6 separate regions of the Homo sapiens genome follow, and all the other regions are linked to region 5. Evidence: promoter capture Hi-C in 16 types of primary human blood cells and fetal thymus (Javierre and others, 2016). All regions are on one chromosome and are shown on one strand. The core of a region is centred on a gene start or on the middle of the fragment in contact, and the rest is flanking DNA. Distances in the headings are between cores, read along the strand shown.

Evidence for each region. The method cuts DNA at HindIII sites, captures the fragments that hold promoters and counts their contacts. A CHiCAGO score of 5 or more calls a contact.
Region 1: a contact is called between a fragment that was not itself captured here and the fragment with the promoter of KRTAP3-1 in region 5, in 17 of 17 cell types (naive B cells, endothelial precursors, megakaryocytes and 14 more). The highest score is 16.1, in naive B cells.
Region 2: a contact is called between the fragment with the promoter of KRTAP9-6 here and the fragment with the promoter of KRTAP3-1 in region 5, in 9 of 17 cell types (endothelial precursors, naive B cells, activated CD4 T cells and 6 more). The highest score is 11.8, in endothelial precursors.
Region 3: the fragment with the promoter of KRTAP29-1 here is called in contact with the fragment with the promoter of KRTAP3-1 in region 5 in 13 of 17 cell types (endothelial precursors, M2 macrophages, naive B cells and 10 more); the score reaches 17.0 in endothelial precursors.
Region 4: a fragment that was not itself captured here is called in contact with the fragment with the promoter of KRTAP3-1 in region 5 in 5 of 17 cell types (endothelial precursors, naive B cells, total B cells and 2 more); the score reaches 7.4 in endothelial precursors.
Region 6: a fragment that was not itself captured here is called in contact with the fragment with the promoter of KRTAP3-1 in region 5 in 7 of 17 cell types (endothelial precursors, naive B cells, megakaryocytes and 4 more); the score reaches 10.1 in endothelial precursors.

The regions. Positions count from the first base shown.
Region 1 is chr17:41,319,433-41,322,252 of GRCh38, forward strand. No RefSeq gene overlaps it. Among named protein-coding and RNA genes, the nearest start is that of KRTAP17-1, 5.1 kb to the left of the region's middle. The HindIII fragment of the contact is 3,454 bases long and covers 1-2,820 here.
Region 2 is chr17:41,264,006-41,267,043 of GRCh38, forward strand. KRTAP9-6 (keratin associated protein 9-6) reads left to right here and starts at 1,373. Exons shown (of 1, transcript NM_001277331.1): 1 at 1,373-1,855. The coding sequence starts at 1,373. The coding sequence ends at 1,855. The HindIII fragment of the contact is 5,841 bases long and covers 1-3,038 here.
Region 3 is chr17:41,301,293-41,304,254 of GRCh38, forward strand. KRTAP29-1 (keratin associated like protein 29-1) reads right to left here and starts at 1,559. Exons shown (of 1, transcript NM_001257309.1): 1 at 534-1,559. The coding sequence starts at 1,559. The coding sequence ends at 534. The HindIII fragment of the contact is 6,603 bases long and covers 1-2,339 here.
Region 4 is chr17:41,282,096-41,285,093 of GRCh38, forward strand. No RefSeq gene overlaps it. Among named protein-coding and RNA genes, the nearest start is that of KRTAP9-7, 7.9 kb to the left of the region's middle. The HindIII fragment of the contact is 8,650 bases long and covers 1-2,998 here.
Region 5 is chr17:41,007,808-41,010,682 of GRCh38, forward strand. It overlaps KRTAP3-1 (keratin associated protein 3-1), which reads right to left and starts at 1,321. Exons shown (of 1, transcript NM_031958.2): 1 at 714-1,321. The coding sequence starts at 1,267. The coding sequence ends at 971. The HindIII fragment of the contact is 1,175 bases long and covers 509-1,683 here.
Region 6 is chr17:41,342,590-41,345,468 of GRCh38, forward strand. No RefSeq gene overlaps it. Among named protein-coding and RNA genes, the nearest start is that of KRT33A, 6.8 kb to the right of the region's middle. The HindIII fragment of the contact is 4,681 bases long and covers 1-2,879 here.

The DNA.
Region 1 (2,820 bases), core at 223-2,722, 310 kb after region 5:
TGAAGAGACAGATAGTCTCACACATTGCTGATGGGAGTGTAAATTGGTACAACCTTTATGGCAATATCCATCAAAATTACCAATGCAAAAACTAATTGATCCAATAATTTATATTCTAAGAGTTTACGACAGGGATATATCAAGATATATATAAAATGATGTAAGTATACAGTATCTGTTGCAACATGGCTCCAGAATCAACACTATCAAACTACCAACATCATTTTTAACAGAATTTGAAAAAACTATTCTAAATTTCATATGGAACCAGAAAAGATCCCAAAGAGCCAATGCAATCCTAAGCAGAAAGAACAAAGTGGAAGGTATCACGTTACCCAATTTCAAACTATAGTGTAAAGCTACAGTAACCAAAACAGCATGGTACTGGTACAAAAACAGACATATACAATGGAACAGAATAGAGAATCCGGAAATAAAGCTGCTCACCTACAGCCACCTGATCTTTGACAAAGTTAACAAAAATAAGCATTGGGGAAAGGACTCCCGATTCAATAAATGGTGCTGGGATAACTGGCTAGCCATATGCAGAAGAATTAAACAACCTCTGTATTTCACCATATAGAAAAATTAACTCAAGATGGATTAAAGATTTAAATGTAAGGCCTCAAACTATAAGAATCCTAGAAGAAAAACTAGGAAACATCATTCTGAACACTAGTCTTGGGAAAAAATGCATTACTAAGTTCTCAAAAACAAATGCAACAAAAACAAAAATTGACAAGTGGGATCTATTTAAATGAAAGAGCTTCAGCACAGTAAAAGAAACTATCAACAGAGTAAACAGATAACCTATAGAATGGAAGAAAATATCCACAAACTATGCATCCAAAAAAGATCTAATATCCAGAATCTATGAAAAACTTAAACAATTCAACAAGGAAAAAACAAATGACCCTGTTAAAAAGTGGGCAAAAGACATGAACAGACACTTCTCAAAAGAAGACATGCGAGTGGTCAACAAACATGTGAAAAAATGCTCCACATCATTAATCATCAGAGAAATGCAAATCAAAACCACAGTAAGATACCATCTCACACCAGTCAGAATGGCAATTATTAAAAAGTCAAAAAACAACAGATGTTGGTGAGGGTGTAGAGAAAAGGGACCGCTTATACACTGTTGGTGGGAATGTAAATTAGTTCAGCCACTGTGGAACGCAGTTTAGAGATTTCTCAAAGAACTTCAAATAGAACTACCATTCAACCCAGCAATCCCATTACTGGGTGTATTAGTCTGTTCTTGCACTACTATGAAGAAATGCCTGAGACTGGGTAATTTAGAAAGAAAAGAGGATTAATTGGCTCACAGTTTCATAAGCTATACAGGAAGCATGATGCAGGCATCTTCTCAGGTTCTGGGGAGGCCTCAGAAAACTTACAATCATGGCAGCAGGCAAAGGGTAGCTGGCACTTCACATGGCCAGGGCAGGAGGAAGAGAGAGAGTGGGGAGATGCTACACACTTTTAAATGACCAGATCTCACAAGAACTCACTCACTATCACAACCAAGGGGGCTAGTGCTAAACCATTCATCAGAAATCACCCCTGTGATCCAATCACCTCCCACCAGGACCCACCTGCAACGCTGGGAATTAACAACTGAACATGAGATTTGGGCAGGAACACAGATCCAAATTATATCACTGGGTATACATCCAAAAGAAAATAAATCGTTCTACCAAAAAAACACACATCCACTTATATGTTCATTGCAGCACTATTCACAATAGCAAAGACATAGAATCAGCCTAAATGCCCATCAGCAGTGGACTATGTAAGGAAAATGTGGCACACATACACCATGGAATACTACCTGGCCATAAAAAAAAAAATCATGTCATTTGCAGCAACATGGATGCAGCTGGAGGCCATTATCCTAAGTGAATTAATACAAGAACAGAAAGCTAAATACCATGTGTTCTCACTTACAAGTGGGAGCTAAACAGTGAATTCACATGGACGTAAATATGGCAACAATAGACACTGGAGACTATGAGAGGGGAAAGGGAAGGAGAGGAGCAAGGGTAGAAAAACTAACTATTGGTTACTATGCTCACTATCTGGATGATGAGATCAATTGTACCACAAACCTCAGCATATATACCCAGGTAGCAAACCTACACGTATACCCCCTGAATCCAAAAGAAAAGTTGAAATTATTTTTTTAATTACTCTCCAGAAAAATTGTCCTCATTTGTGTTCACTTCACAGTGCCTTCGCCAATATTAGTTGTTATTTTTAAAATCTCTTTGTCAATTGGGTAGGCCAATTATGAAGTCTCATTATAGTATTTATTTGTACTTAGTAATTATCATTGCATATTTTTATAGGCCACTGTTATTTCCTTTTTAGAAATTATCTGCTCATTCTAATTAGCTACCCATCTTTCCCACCTTACTTATATGAACTTATTTTATTATGCCAGGTATATTAACTTTTCGTTGTGTCACTCACACATGTTGCAAAATTTGTCCCAGGGTGTATCACTTTCTTTTAGTTGTGTCTATATTTTTACGCACAGAAATTTCTTTCTATGTAGGGAAATCTTTTTTTCCTAGTGTTTTGTTTCAAAAGTTCTCCTCCATCCCCAAATCAGACAACTATTTGCTTTATTTTCATCTATTTTATGGTTGTATTTTTTATACTTAATGCTGCTATCCATCAGGAATTTACTTTGGTGTGTGGCAGATACTGCTTTACAAAAAAAAAAAAAAATCCTAGTTTTCCTAATTGGGGAACTTGACTGCCTATTAAATGAAGTTTGCTGACAAGATCCTGCCTCTACAAAAAATTAAAAAA
Region 2 (3,038 bases), core at 123-2,622, 260 kb after region 5:
CCTACGCTCTATGGCTTCACGAAAATTATCCCTCATGGAATATTAACTCCTTTATCTACCTGCTGGTCTGCTAACATGAAGGATCCAAAATGAAATGACCAGGTTATAATTGCTGCTTTTGATTATGCCAAAAACACAGTGAAGCAAATTCTATAATTTTTATTTACATAAAAGTCAAAGAAAAAAACAAAACTGACCTACAGGATTAAAACTTGATAGAGTGACTAGCTACCTTTGGAGATAAGTAAAAAGATATAATTTGGAGGGAATGGAATTAATTTCTATTTTGTAAACTGGTAATGGGGACTTAGATGTATTTATAATGTAATATTATATCAAGTTGGAATTCATAATTTGCACTCTTCTGAAATGAATGGTATAATTTAAAAAGTTTTAAACAATGGTAAACCTCAAAGAGGAATCAGATATCATCTCAACTCACCTAATTCCCTCACTGAAAACAGAGAGACAGAGAGAGAGAGAGAGAGAGAGACAGAGACAGAGACAGAGACAGAGACAGAGACAGAGAAATGGCAATGATTGTGCCAGTAACCTGGATTAGGGCTAGAGCCACAGCTCATATTGCTTTGCCTGGACCTCAAGCAGTAATGTCACAGTAATTCCCAGTCCCACATTCTCATGCTGGTAAGCCCCTCAGTCCCAGACAAATCAGGGTGAATGGTCACCGCAGCACGTAGATTGCTTGATGCTTTGTGAATTCCAGTGAACCCCTCCTCTTTCTACGTGTTTGCTTTGGCTCTGCTCTGCCACATAGCACACATTGTGCTGAACACCCTCTTCCCAAGAGGCTTTTATAGAACTGGAAGAGACAGGTAAAGTAGGTTGTACATAGAGAGATGCCTATCAGTCTTGAATCAGACTTTGGTGGGTGAACAGTCTTGGTCCCAAGCATGGATTCAATTCACCACTGTGAATATATCAACATCATGCTTCTCCCCACAGACACTTCCCAGTCTACATACAGCCAAAGGATGAGACTGGGCAGAGAGAACTTCCTGAGCCTCCCCAGTCACCAGGAACTATCACATGACGAGATGCTGGTCAGAGCAGGAACGAAGCTGATGATGAGACTGCCTTCCTTTTATCTGAAACAAAGTTTCTACGAGTAATTTACAATTAAGAAACAGATTAAACCCTTACTTTCCAAAGATTCATAACATTTAGGAAATGACTTCCTCTTTGACAATGCCAAACTGACTATGGAAAACAACTGTAAACAGCAAGAAAGAAAAATCCTGCTGATTGGTGGAAACTTTGGAGGCCACATGTATAAAAGGTCCAGATTGCAAGGGGTCATCAAATCCTGGGAAACTCACCTCTGAACAGAAGCCCACCCTCCACCCCTGACAACATGACCCACTGTTGCTCCCCTGGCTGTCAGCCTACCTGCTGCAGGACCACTTGCTGCAGGACTACCTGCTGGCAGCCCACCATTGTGACCACCTGCAGCAGCACACCCTGCTGCCAGCCCTCCTGCTGTGTGTCCAGCTGCTGCCAGCCTTACTGCCACCCAACTTGCTGTCAAAACACCTGCTGCAGGACCACCTGCTGCCAGCCCACCTGTGTGACCAGCTGCTGCCAGCCTTCCTGCTGCAGCACACCCTGCTACCAGCCCATCTGCTGTGGGTCCAGCTGCTGTGGCCAAACCAGCTGTGGGTCCAGCTGTGGCCAGAGCAGCTCCTGTGCACCTGTGTACTGCAGAAGAACCTGCTACCACCCCACGACTGTCTGCCTGCCTGGTTGCCTCAACCAGAGCTGTGGATCCAGCTGCTGCCAGCCCTGCTACTGCCCAGCCTGCTGTGTGTCCAGCTGCTGCCAGCATTCTTGTTGCTGAGCAGCACCACAGAGGACCATCATCCTCACACAACAACCTTCTGCTCAACTGACCTTTTTTTTCTTTTGAGACGGAGCCTCACTGTCACCCAGGCTGGAGTGCAGTAGCACGCTCTCGGCTCGCTGCAACCTCCATCTTCTGGGTTCAAGTGATTCTCCTGCCTCAGCCTCCTGAGTAGCTGGGATTACATGCCTGTGCCACCACGCCTGGCTAATTTTTTGTATTTTTAGTATTTTTAGTAGTTTTCACCATGTTGATCAGACTTGTCTGGAACTCCTGCCCTCAGGTGATCCACCTGCCTCAGCCTCCCAAAGTGCTGGGATTACAGGTGTGAGCTACCACACCCAGACCCAACTCACTTATCTTTCAGAAGACAGATTTACTTTCAAACTTTACTGATACACAGTATGCTTTCACCAATTTTTTTTATTTCTTTGCCTGTTTAAAATCTTGGGAATCAGCTTGAGGGAGGGCAGAATACTTCATCCTGATTCTTTTTTCCTTACACTTTGTGGATCATGTGCCAGCTTCATGTGTTCTCAATGTGGAGACATGGTCTCCATTCGACTCTAAAGTCAAGAGCTTCATTCTCTCCTTCTAAGAAACTTAGGTTTCTGCAACTGATCAATAATCTTTGCAATCATATTTTTGTTTTCAATTTTGTCCTCATGTTTCTTTTACCCTTCTTTCTTCTTTTCATTGTAACTTTGGGCTATGTCCCTAGTAGCAGGGATTCTTACCTATATATTTCTGAATAAATTCTGAACCATCCTTCATCTCATATGGTGTTTTATTTTACAGAATTGCTGATATGAGATTTACACACATATTGCATGCTATATGTATTATCCAATTTGATTCTGAAAACAGAGTTATTATTATGTATTATTACCTCAATTTTTCAGCTGAGAACAATTTAGTGTGTGATTTTATGTAGCTAATAAAGGACAGACTCTAGTCCAAGGTGAGAGCTTCTCTTTCTGCCCAAGAACACTTACATTTAACTCTCGGTAAAGTAGAAATGATATTGAGACTCAGCAATAGCAAGACATGCACTTGAGTTTATTTAATGTGGGAGGTATAATCTCTCATATTTGCAGACGACATTTCTGTTCACAAAGGTCTTCCCAAATTAGTTTTCCACACCTCAGTGAGTAATAGCTACATGGGATGACAACAGGGA
Region 3 (2,962 bases), core at 309-2,808, 290 kb after region 5:
CCTTACTCTCGTCCAGCTGGAGAATCTATAATCCTAGACACTAGCTACCCTTGCAGACCAATGCAGACCCACTGACTTAGATGACTCAGGCTCATTGTGTTCAAATGTGACCTGAAGGAAATCTACATAGAGGTGTGTGTAGGAATGAAAGCACTCCAGGAGTCTTATTTATTATACTTAACCAGTCACATTTTTATTAGCAGCTGGCAGCAACGAGGTCTTCTGAAAGACCAGGCAGCATCAAGAAAGAGAAACAAGAGAGGGTTTGCTAAAGTGAAATGAATTGACATCATCAGGAAATGCAAGCAGCAGTGTGGTAGTCCATGGTTGCTGAAAGGTTATTCTCGGTTAAGAAGGATCTCTTCGTGCCTGGACAAGTTCCCTGGTCAGCACCTGGAGAGAATGTGAAGGTGGAATCAGGGTAAAGTTAGAAAGCAGGCAGCATTTGTACTCGGTGGGAGGCAGGCACCCAGGGATGGCTATGCATTTATAGACAGCCGCAGACCCTCAGAGGAGGTGTGAAGAGGGCTCCATTAACAAAGTGTTGCCTTGCAGAAGCTGGACTCACAGCTGGGTTGGCATGAAGTCGGCAAGCAATTGGAGCCACTACTGGGTGATGTGCCTAAACCAGTCACACAGCAAGCTGATTTGCAGCCACTCTGGTTATAGGAAGGGGGTCCATCACAAGTTGGTTGGCCAGAAATCACAGTGTCACAAGAAGCTGGTTTGCAACAGTTCTTTGTGGAACAAGGGGCCTGGCAGTTAGCCACTGGCTGGTAGATGAAGCATGTGGAAGGAACCAGTTGGCAGTGAGGTGGCTGGCAATGGGAAGGCACACAGCAAGTAGTATTGCAAGAACTGAACACACAAGTCGATGGCTGGCAGGGAACAGGCATGTAGAGGGCTGATTGGCAAGGCTTGAAAATATAGCAGATGGGTTGATAATAAGTTGATTTACAGGGCTGGCCTTCACCACTGACGGGTTGACATGAACTTCCTTGGCACCAAGTTGGTTGGCATGGACTAGCTGTACAGATGGTTGGTAGGCAAGAAGTTTCCGGACAGGAGGTCACTTCAGAGCAGGATGGCTGGCAGGATCCAGCATCACAGCAGACTGATTGGCCACAAGCTGCCTGACATGATCCAGACATGCAGACAGATTCCTGGCAGGAGCTTTGCTGGCAGGGACTGGCATCGCAGCACTTTTCCTGACAACAAGTAGATTCCGAGCAGGATGGCTGACATGAGCTAACCAGACAAGGAGACTGACCAGTGCCAGACTGATAGCAGGCTGCGTGGGAGCACATAGGTTGGCAAACAAAACCCACACAAGACGTTGCTGGAAGGCGGGTAGGTTGACACGAAGCAGGATCACAGCCACTTGGGGCACCAATGGATGGCTGACAGCTTTCTTGGCATGTGACCAGTTGCCACATTCTGCTGTGGCAGGAACTAGGCAAACAGAGAGCATGTCGAAATCCACCTTTAACTGGGTATGTGGTGATGGTGGGCACAGCTGGAATGGCTGTGGTGTTTCCAGGACAACAGCCGTCTGCCATGGTGCTGGTGCTGACCTTGCTGGGAAGTTGCAAGCTCAGTATACCTGCATTGGAAAGACATCCGATACAGAGGGGCTTTTATAGTCCTTCACTAGGGGTGTTGGCACGCCATGCAGCATCTTTCCTTGTTATTGTTTTTACTCATTTGCATGCAAACATCTGATTAGCAGGCTTCAGGAGCCTGGGAGATGTTTCAACTTTGAAAAGGTGTCTGTTGAGTCGGGAGTTTTCTGCGCTGCATTTGGATTCGTTGACACTGCTCCTGCTCTTGGATGAGCTGTCTCTTTTACAGGTTGCTCTCCAGCCTCACTGAAGCAGGCCTTTCCTGGCACTAACCTTTCATCAGGAGGCCTCTGCCAAGCCAGAGTGGCCCTGCTGTTCCTCCAGGAATGCAGCTTTGCACCATTCAATCAGAAATGAAGCCTTGACCCAGTTTGGGGAGAGGATGTCAAGACGGGAAATGGAAAATTAGTCCAAGGAACCCAGGGACACTTAAGTGCCTCTACCTCTTTTTAAAACCTTCCCATTTATCATTCCTGAAACTTGTTTACTAGTACTATTACTAATAATAACAATAGAAATGGCTTTCATTTATTGCATAGTTACTAGATCAAGTCCTTGGCTGCATTTTTCACTGGATCCTCACAATGACTTCAGTAAGTATAATTGTCATCACTATGTTAGAAGTGGCAAAACTAAAAAAAAGTAATAAATAAAGAAGAAACCAGGTTTAAAACAAAGTTAAGATTAAAATATAAAACTTCATTGGCCCTTTTAGGAAGCTTAAAATCTCCCCCAAATTGGTTCCTCTCAAGATTTTTTTAGAACAGAAAAGAAGAAAACAGAAGTGGCAAAACTCATAGAGTTTAAATCATGTTCCCAAAATTATGCAAATGAAAAGGGGTAGAAACAAAATTCAAACCTAGCTTTGTCTGACCACCAAACCCCTGATCTTAACCACCTATTAGACCCCCTGACTTTGGGGAGGCAGGGAGAAGGCGACACTGATATAGTGGCTGCAGGCTGACACCCCTATGGCAACAGACTGGCTCGTGAGCAGGTTGCCCAGGCCCCATCCTGGGGATCCTCCGCCCACTCCAGTGACTGTAATCAGCAGCTAGACCACACTGGTGTGAGTACTTACCTCTACTTATCAATACACTCAAACACAGTCTTTTAATTTTGGAAATTTTTTAAACTACCAAATATTTCATCAGGAAGTATCAAACCCACCCTAGGGCATCAATAGCATATGAATTCTATACAAATAAAAACACGCCAGCAGTGATAATAAAAAAAATCACTGTAAAGTGGTGTTAATGTTAAACCAATCCCTTCCAAGAGGAATTCGTGAGGGACTTTCTTGGCCCTTCTGCTTTTCCTCCGGGCTTGTCCTGGCTCCG
Region 4 (2,998 bases), core at 311-2,810, 270 kb after region 5:
GTGTATGATTTGAGTTGCTTGTTGACAAATGAAAATGAAATGTCTTGTACATGTAGGTCACTTTTCTACCTAAAAATGCAGAATACTTGAACAAAAAAGACTAAGAAACACCCTGCAATGCGCACAAGACACAGTTTCTGTGCTCCAAATGCTGGATCAACCTAGCTTCTCAATCAGAGGATTATAAGGGTAGTGCATATTTACAGAATCCTCAGAATTGAAGTAACTGAGCAATGGGTATATAATGCTTTGATCCAACCAGTGCCTCAATGTTGTGAGGCAAAGTTGAAGCAGAGGAGATTCAACATCAGAGTATTAGAAAAAGAAAACATAAGGATTTGAGAAAGAAAATAAAGGAAACTGGTCACTCTTAAAAAGTATACTGGATATAATGACAATAGACGTTATTGTAGTCCCCCAAAGTGGGAGCTAGACTTTCCGAAGAGCTGAACACCAAAGAGGATACCAAGATATTTCTTGAAAAAAAAGAACAGATACTGGCTCCAGGGGAAAAATAATATTCTGTGGCCTGAGCTATCACATAGTAGTTAGGTCTTAGGAAATCTAAGAAGGTGGAGGGATTTTCCAAAGAGGCTTCCATGTTGTCTGACTTGCTAAGTGCTTGCTCTCCTGATGCATTCAAGGATGAGCTGAGGCACTACCATTTACTGAGTAACTACAGGTATTAGTCTAGGTTTTTCTAATTCATAATCCACCAATGTTTTATTTTCCTCATTTCACAGATGAAGAAACAGAGGCTAAGGGAGATGAAGGAACTTGTTCAAAGTTGTACAGTTAACAGTTGACCTGGCTTCAAACACTAAGCTGTCTACACTACACTCACTGTGTGTGCTATGCTCCCTGCCCCTACCAGTCTAGAGACATAACCGGGTCTATGGAGTCTTGAATATGACAGCAAATTACTTGGTACCCTCACACAGTCTCATTTCCTTATTCTACCAATAGTTGGGACTTCGGGAGAGTGAATAAGAATAAAGACTTACATCTGGATATTAAAACAATCCTTTATTTAAATAAGATTTATTGAGCACTTACTGTGTGTTAAGTACTGTGCCAGGTGCTGTGATTACAGAAGTGAACGAGACATTCAACATCCTCACCTTTATTGTGCTTCGGGAAGAATACAAACAAGAGACAAAATTTATACAGTAGAAGTGAGGAAGGTGAGCCTATATTATTAATGATATAGGAAGGGTGGTTCATGACGACTGTATCTAACAGAATTGTATCTTAGCAACGAATCAGAGAGGGAAGGAAATAAAAAACTTCCATTTTGAACCCATGAATCAATTTACCAAGTAGAACAACAGGGGTGATACTGAAAGAACTCAGGTACAAAAATTCCCCAAAAATGTAAATGCAGAAACAATAAAACATGGTTGGAATATATTAAGTACTTCCCCCAAAGCCTGCAGCTTGTAGGTAGCAGAACAGGCATGATGCAAATACTCATCTATGTGATTTCGATCCTCATGGCCCAGACTTTCCTGCCTTCTTCCACAGTGGAAAACCTGTGCATGAACAAAGAAGGGAAGATGAACCCATGAGCTCTCTTTGTGTGGACATACTGCAGTCTTCCTGGCCAAACACAGGAAATTGATGATACATTGCAAAGGCAGATCACAAAACCAGCACACATGGGAGGAGAAGGGATGAAGGAACATCCAACAATCTAGCTATTTTGTGGGGACCTCAGAATCACTAAAATTGAGCAGAAGGTTCTTAGGCAACCAGGTAAACCACCTTGATCTAGATTTTAACAATGAGAAGGACTTGGTAAGCAAAGGTTAGTGATGATAAACTTGCTGCAAAAGGACCATGTAAAAATTTGTGATAGCAAGGCAAGGAAATGCTTGTTTGGCTGGAACTGCATTCTACAGAGCAGGAAGATAATTGGCTATTTACAGGAACATGAATGTGATTTTCCAGCAAAGGGCACTGGAATAGAGGATGGAGCTAAGGGTAGGGAAGCGCTCAGAAAAGCCATTCTGATTGCTTAGTCACAGATGCTTCTAATGAGGAAAAAGTTCAGGGGGTCTAGAGTGAGTACAGAAATTCTCTAAAAGCTCTTTAAAAGATCTTCCTAGGAATGGAACAGACCACCCCGGGTGTATGAATTTCCATTTACTAGACACTTAAGCATTGGATCTGGCAACACATGGCAGGAAGTTTATTAGGATTCCTTCCATGCCTGAGATTCTTTGAGATCCTTAAACACTCTGTCTTGCCCCATCATTATTTGATTAATTAATTGCTAACAGGTTGTTATTCTCTGAACTCCGTAAGCATTCACATACATAATGCTTTAAAGAAAGCATACACACTGTCATGATAATTGGCATTCCCTTGGAGATAAAAAAAAAAAAAAAATAAGGACTATCTCCCCAATGGCATGCAAGGTAGAATTCACAACCCTTGATAAATGTACCTGGTTCTGGCCTTTAGCCTTGCAGACTCAGAGACCTGATTTTGCTTACATTCTAAGGGTTAAGCCACGTCTTAGAGCAGACACCTGTTAGCCAAGCCCAAAAAGCAAGGATGCCTATTTATTAAATTACAGGAGAATTAAGTAACAGGAACTTCTAAAACACCACATGAGTAAGGAATCAGACAGGAAGTTATATAAACTAAATGTTGAATGGCATTTGACATGTTCGTTTCACAATAGTTCTCACCAATGGAAATTGAAAATTCATAGTCCCTCTCCTGTGGGCAGTTGCCTGGAGGCACACTGCCAACATTCACCCCAGCACTTGTCTTAACCCTGATTTTCCATGGTTCAACAATACTCTAATTTAACTTTCACATTTTTACATCTTCAATTAGACTTGAATCAATTCCTCAGACTTTGAATGCATACATCTTTTTAAGGTGACGCTACATAATTTGGTTTTGATCGTTTTGAACATAGGTTCCAAGTCTTGGATGATATCTGACTGTACCAATGCATTCTCATTCACACCATTGCATGGTGAGC
Region 5 (2,875 bases), core at 71-2,570:
TGCTCTCAGAATTGTGTGACTATTTCTGGTGTATAGAAAATACTACACTGTAGTCTGATATTTTAAGCATATTTCAATGTCATGATATTATATGTCACTTAGACTAGCAAACTTCTAATCATAGTCATGACTAATGTAAACCAATGTAAGCCCCATTTGAGGAATCAATGAATACTCGATAAATGCTAACATTAATTAAAAATGGATTGTTTTGGAAGACAGCATATATGAAGAAATGGATATATACACTTCTCAAAATTGCTTTGCATTTTGAGCTCAGAATTTCAGATGACTGTGAGGACTAGGATAATCAAATTATTTATACACACCAGCACAGTGATCAATTCATTTAGTCAATTAAGGAAGAAAGAAAAATCAATGTCAGAATCAATGGAAACTAAAATCAAGTATTTTTAAAACATTCTGTTAATCTCTAGACTCTAGCATAGTGCTTGCACAGTGGATGTCTTCCAATAATATCTATTAAATAAATATCTGTTAAATAAAAAGCTTCTATAAAATGAACTACCACATTTTTTACTTTTTAACTTATCACAAATAACCAGTATCTATTTTTTCGATAAATTCCACTATGAGAGCTCTTATTCTGTTGGGGTAAATCTTGGATAGTGTGATAACCTACTGTTCAGGTTTAGGTAGGCATTCCACTTTCCCTAATGGGAGACATGAAAATAAATAATCACAAGGTCATATTTGCTAAGCCAGAATAAAGTTTATTAACAAATGGTCAAAATGGTTATTTCTCAAAGAGTGATGAAATAGCCTAAAAGACAGAAGGGAGGTCTCCAATGGTACCCAAATGTGCAAATAATTAAGAAGATTCATCAAGACTTGGCCCCGGGGATTGGGATGGCCTTAGCCTTGATGTAGGCAGTAGTGAGTGCTGAAGCCCAGATGGTGCAGAGGACATTGGGCAGCCACCTCACGGAACCTGTGCAGACTCGGCTGGTTAACAGCGGGGCTCACAGGGACTCTCACAGCCAGGCTGAACATAGGTGGTCAGGTTGATCCCACTCAGTCCGGGAGTCGGGTGACAGTTGTTGAGCAGCCAGCAAGTTGGCACATAGGTATCAGGCTTGCAGCAGGGTGGGGGGCAGGTGTCACAGCAGATGGGCTGAAGGAGGCTGATCTCATGTGGGCAGGTGCTGGGTAGGCAGACTCCACAGCGGCAGCTTTTATCAAATGAGCAGAAGGTGGTGGCAGGGCCGGTGGGGACGCTGCAGGAGCGGAGAGCACAGCAATACATGGCAATGGGAGGTGGGTTTTTGTTGAGTTGAGAGAAGTCTGTTGGTGTCTCGATGCTCCTCTCTTCTGCTCTGGCTCTTATATACCCATCTCCCTGGGCGTCAGCCTATTACTGAGGGTTTTTCCCCCATGTTTCAGTTTATAGTTATTTCCATAAAAAATGCCTAATTACTTAAGTGTTTATTACCTAAGATACACTGCTCACCTCATAAAAGAGATTTAGGTTGTTTTGTTGTCAAATTAGGACTATTCACATTGCCAGTGTGTCACTACACAGAAATCTTCATTCCAGTCTTCAAAGGTACCGGGCCATTATCTTCTAATCATTATACCCTCACTAATAATGGCTCGGTATGCCAGGCATCTGCAAACGTTTCCCACTTCTTTTGTTTACTTTTCAGATGAAGAGGACAAGTAAGCTTTTTGTTTGCTGTTCTACCAGTGACTACAGGTTCTATGTGATCCTTTAGGCCCTCAGGCTGAAAAAGTGATATAACATTTTAGATTTATTATTTGTGGCTCCAATAAACTGAATGAAGATGAATGGATAGAATCTATAGAGAAATAGATTTTGGTTTTGTGTAAAGAGGCACTTTCAAACAGAGCTATAACAAATCGTTTGTTCTGCATTCCTTTCAAATATGCTCTGAACAATAACTTGGTAAGAACATGCAGGTGGGAATGAAGACCTTCATGGGTGACAAAGATGGGTGTCCTTTAAGCTCCATCCAACTGTGTTATAAATGGAGATTATTTATAACCAAAAGGCTGGTTGTATTGGGCCATTCAGAAGCTAAATGATGCAGTATTTACCAGACTGAGTTCCATGAACACTGGTTCCAAGGGACTTGAAAGTGTTTTCTGGTAAGTAAGTTTGGGAAATGCTGAATTCTTCATTGTTGGGCCTCTCGGAGCCTTTAATGTGCTAAAATGCTCTATGACTTTTCAATACAGAGATATAGCATATATTTTTCTCCAAACTTACTTGACCATGGACTGCTTTTTGTTTGTTTTCAGAGATTAGCTCTATAGGTCAGTGCTTTATGAAACATACTTGGGGAGATTTAGCAACATCTTACAGCAAGCTTGTTCAACCTGTGGCCCAGAAAGGCATTGAATGCAGCACAACACAAATTCATAAACTTTCTTAAAACATTATGAGATTTTTTTGTGATTTTTTTTCTTTTTTTGCTCATCAGCTGTCATTAGTGTTAGTGTATTTTATGTGTGGCCCAAGACAATTCTTCTTTCAATGTGGCCCAGGGAAGCCAAAACATTGAACACCCCTGTCTTACTTCCAGGCTCTGTGGTCCAGAATAGAGACATTTCCGAGTTTCATCTAAACCACTAAAACTCTAAAAATAAAGTTTTAAAAGTAGATAAAGGTAGAAAATTTAGTATGATGATTTAGAATTACTTTAGAATATGAAAAATACTAAACTGGTAAAACCTTTAGAAATGGCTTACTTAGAAAGGCTTAAAAACATGTACATATTTTCTTGACCCATTTTTTCAGATAAGATGGCTCAAGTTCTAAAGTAGAAAATTGCACAATGCAGAGGAATCAGAAGCCAAATGAGATGCAAATCAACAAGATGTTGGATTAAAA
Region 6 (2,879 bases), core at 172-2,671, 330 kb after region 5:
GTCCAGCCTGGCATTGTCTTTACACAATCCTGCATGCAACTTTGTATTTACAATAATCAGGAGCATTTCATCTTTTATTCCATAGCAATAGTTTCAAGGGCTCCCCCTACACTTTACATTTCAGTCCTGTGCTTGTCCCTACAAGTTTAAAAAAAAAAAGTGAGAGTGAGGGAAAGCTACCTCTGCACACCTGCAGCAGGCTCAGCGAGGAGCCTGGTGGGGCCGGGGCCCACCTGCCTGGCACATAACTTCATCAAGTTGTCAGTGTGCATTTTGCAATAACAAGGGACAGATCATGTCATCCTCATATCCTTTTATAGTTGGAGCCATTCTTGGGACTTTTGGTGCCTGCTGCCAGACTCTCCTGTTTTTGATGAGAAATGTGAGCAGTTGTTGTTAGATGTCAGTGATTCTTCTTTGAAACATAAAAGAAGACATACCTGACTTGTAATTGTCATCCACTACCCTGAAACTTTAAATGTTAGTGTTCAGTAAACCTATTTTCCATTCAGCTGCCAATGCACTCCTTTTAATAAAAGTGTCAATCAAATTCATCCTTTTAACTCTCCCAAGGCTTTCCTCTTCCCTTGAAATGAAATCGGATCCTCCACAGAACTGGCGAGCCCCCATGTACCCTGGCCACTGCCCACACATACAGGCTGATTGTTCCTCCCCTACTCATCACTCCCGATGCCCTGGCCTTGCTCCCTTCTTCAAAGGCAACTGCCTTACTCCCTCCCTTCCTTGACTTTCTGTCCCTCTCTCTGGAAAGCTCTTTCCCTCTGCTCTGTTTCTTCTCTGTTTTCAGGTCTCAATGCAAATGTCACCTCTCAGGCAAGCTCTCCAAACTGAGACAATAGGAGCTCGGTTCACATCTGTCAAAAATAGGAGCAAACAGGCTGTTAGGAGGCTGAGTAGAATGTTTTACTGGGACTAGACAATATCAAACTTAGATCCCAAGAGCCCAGGAATTCGTATTCAAGGTCAAAGTGTCAACAACAAGAATACTGAGTCTTACATAGGTACCATGCTGCACCATTTATAAAGCACTTCCATACACAGGGGATCTTCACAACCCCACAATGCTGCCAGGCCAGGTCTCTCAAAAGGAGGACTCTGATGGTCAGGGGAGTCAACAATATATCCAAAACCAGGACCAAAAAATGTTGCCTCCAAAACAAGCCATAATTCTTCTTCTCATCACAGCATCCCACACCATCTCCTAGTGGGTAAGACTCATAGCCCAGCGCCATCATGGTTTATTTCACAGGGAAGGGTGGGGCAGGGATTAGGAGACATTTCCCAGGGTCTTGTTTCCTTGCTTCCTTGCTATGGGCCTCTCCCCTCAGAGCACTGTTTTCTGAGAAGGCCTGGCTCGAGGAGCTGATGACCTCAGCGACTGCAGACCTGGGAACCTGCAGAAAGGAGAAATTAAGTTTGCACCTGGGAAAGCCCAGGGTTGAATAACAGAACCTCGCCTTTAAGAATTCTTGCTTTTTTTTTCCTGCCTCTGCATTGTTGCTGAAATATACAAGAGAGAAAGAAAGGATTCTGAACCCATTATTTATCTCCTCCTTCCAAGCAAGCAGCAGACATTCATGATTAATGATGAGGTGACTTTCTACATTGATTTAATTGAAATCTGTATCCTATCCAGGTTATTTTTAAAGTTTATAAAGACCTTTTCTACTGATTCTTCTCTTCCAAACTCAAATAAAGAAATGTTTTATATACATGATCTTCCACTAAAAAGGAGCCCAGACTCTCAGATCCTCAGGAACATCTGTTCTCCATTCTATAGGACTGTGCTGCTGAAGACAAATGGAGTAGCGAGTGACCAATCTTTGAGACTCAGCATTCTCTCTATGTTAGCCCTAACGCAAAAGAGAGGACTGGTCCGCACCTAAGGGAAGAAGGTGGCCACGAGCAACTGTTGAGGGCTGGTCTCCTTAGCTGTCCTCTGGTATCCACAGCCCTGAATGGAAGGTTTTGGGTATTTTTCCCTGGACATCTCTACCACACCTAAATATATGGTCTGCAAGTTTTGGAGAGAATTTCCAACCCCCACTCTACCTCCTGCCCCTCCCTACCTGTTCTCATAGGTTGATGATATTCTAATCTCTATTAAGAGTTCCCATTCTCAATATCTCTTCATTTCAATCATTGATTTAGAAAAGTAGGAGTAGAGAAGTGAAAAATGAGACTCAATCTCATTTGTGGGCTGGGCCTTGGGTTTCCTTACTTGATTGCTGTTTTTGTTTTTTTAAACATTGCCAAATCTGGATGCCACTGAAGGCAGTAATGTGACATAATGATGGTCCCAACTGCATATAAATAAAAACAGGTGGGGCCAAAGCTCAAGGCTCACTAGGACAAAAGAGACTTTTCCGCCAAATAACCCACTCACAGTTCTCCATCATCTGACGCAGACCCCAGGCAACTGAGCAGAGAACTCCAGCATAGAGTTCCAGGCCCACATCATAGAACTACAGAAAGTCACAAGGAGTCCTTGAGTGCCGAGGCAGGAACAAAGAGAGGAAGGTGAACCAAAGGCACCTCCCCACCATCCAGCCTAGCAGATCCCACACTCCTCCTGGCCACTATATCCCTCTACCCTTTGCTGCTCCTTCCTACTTTCTACCTAAACATTTCAGCACAGCATGGTTGTGTGTGTGCATGTGTGTGTGGTGTACATATGCTTATATGGTATGTGGTTATGTATATGTGTATATGAGATTATATACCATATGTTAAGGTGATAGATTTATATTACCTCAGTACAGGTTTTTTTTTTACTCAAAAGGTTTTCGGATCCCTCCACTTAATGTTTCAGAATAAATAGTTCCTGTGTCTCTAAAGACACCTTCATATGAATTTGC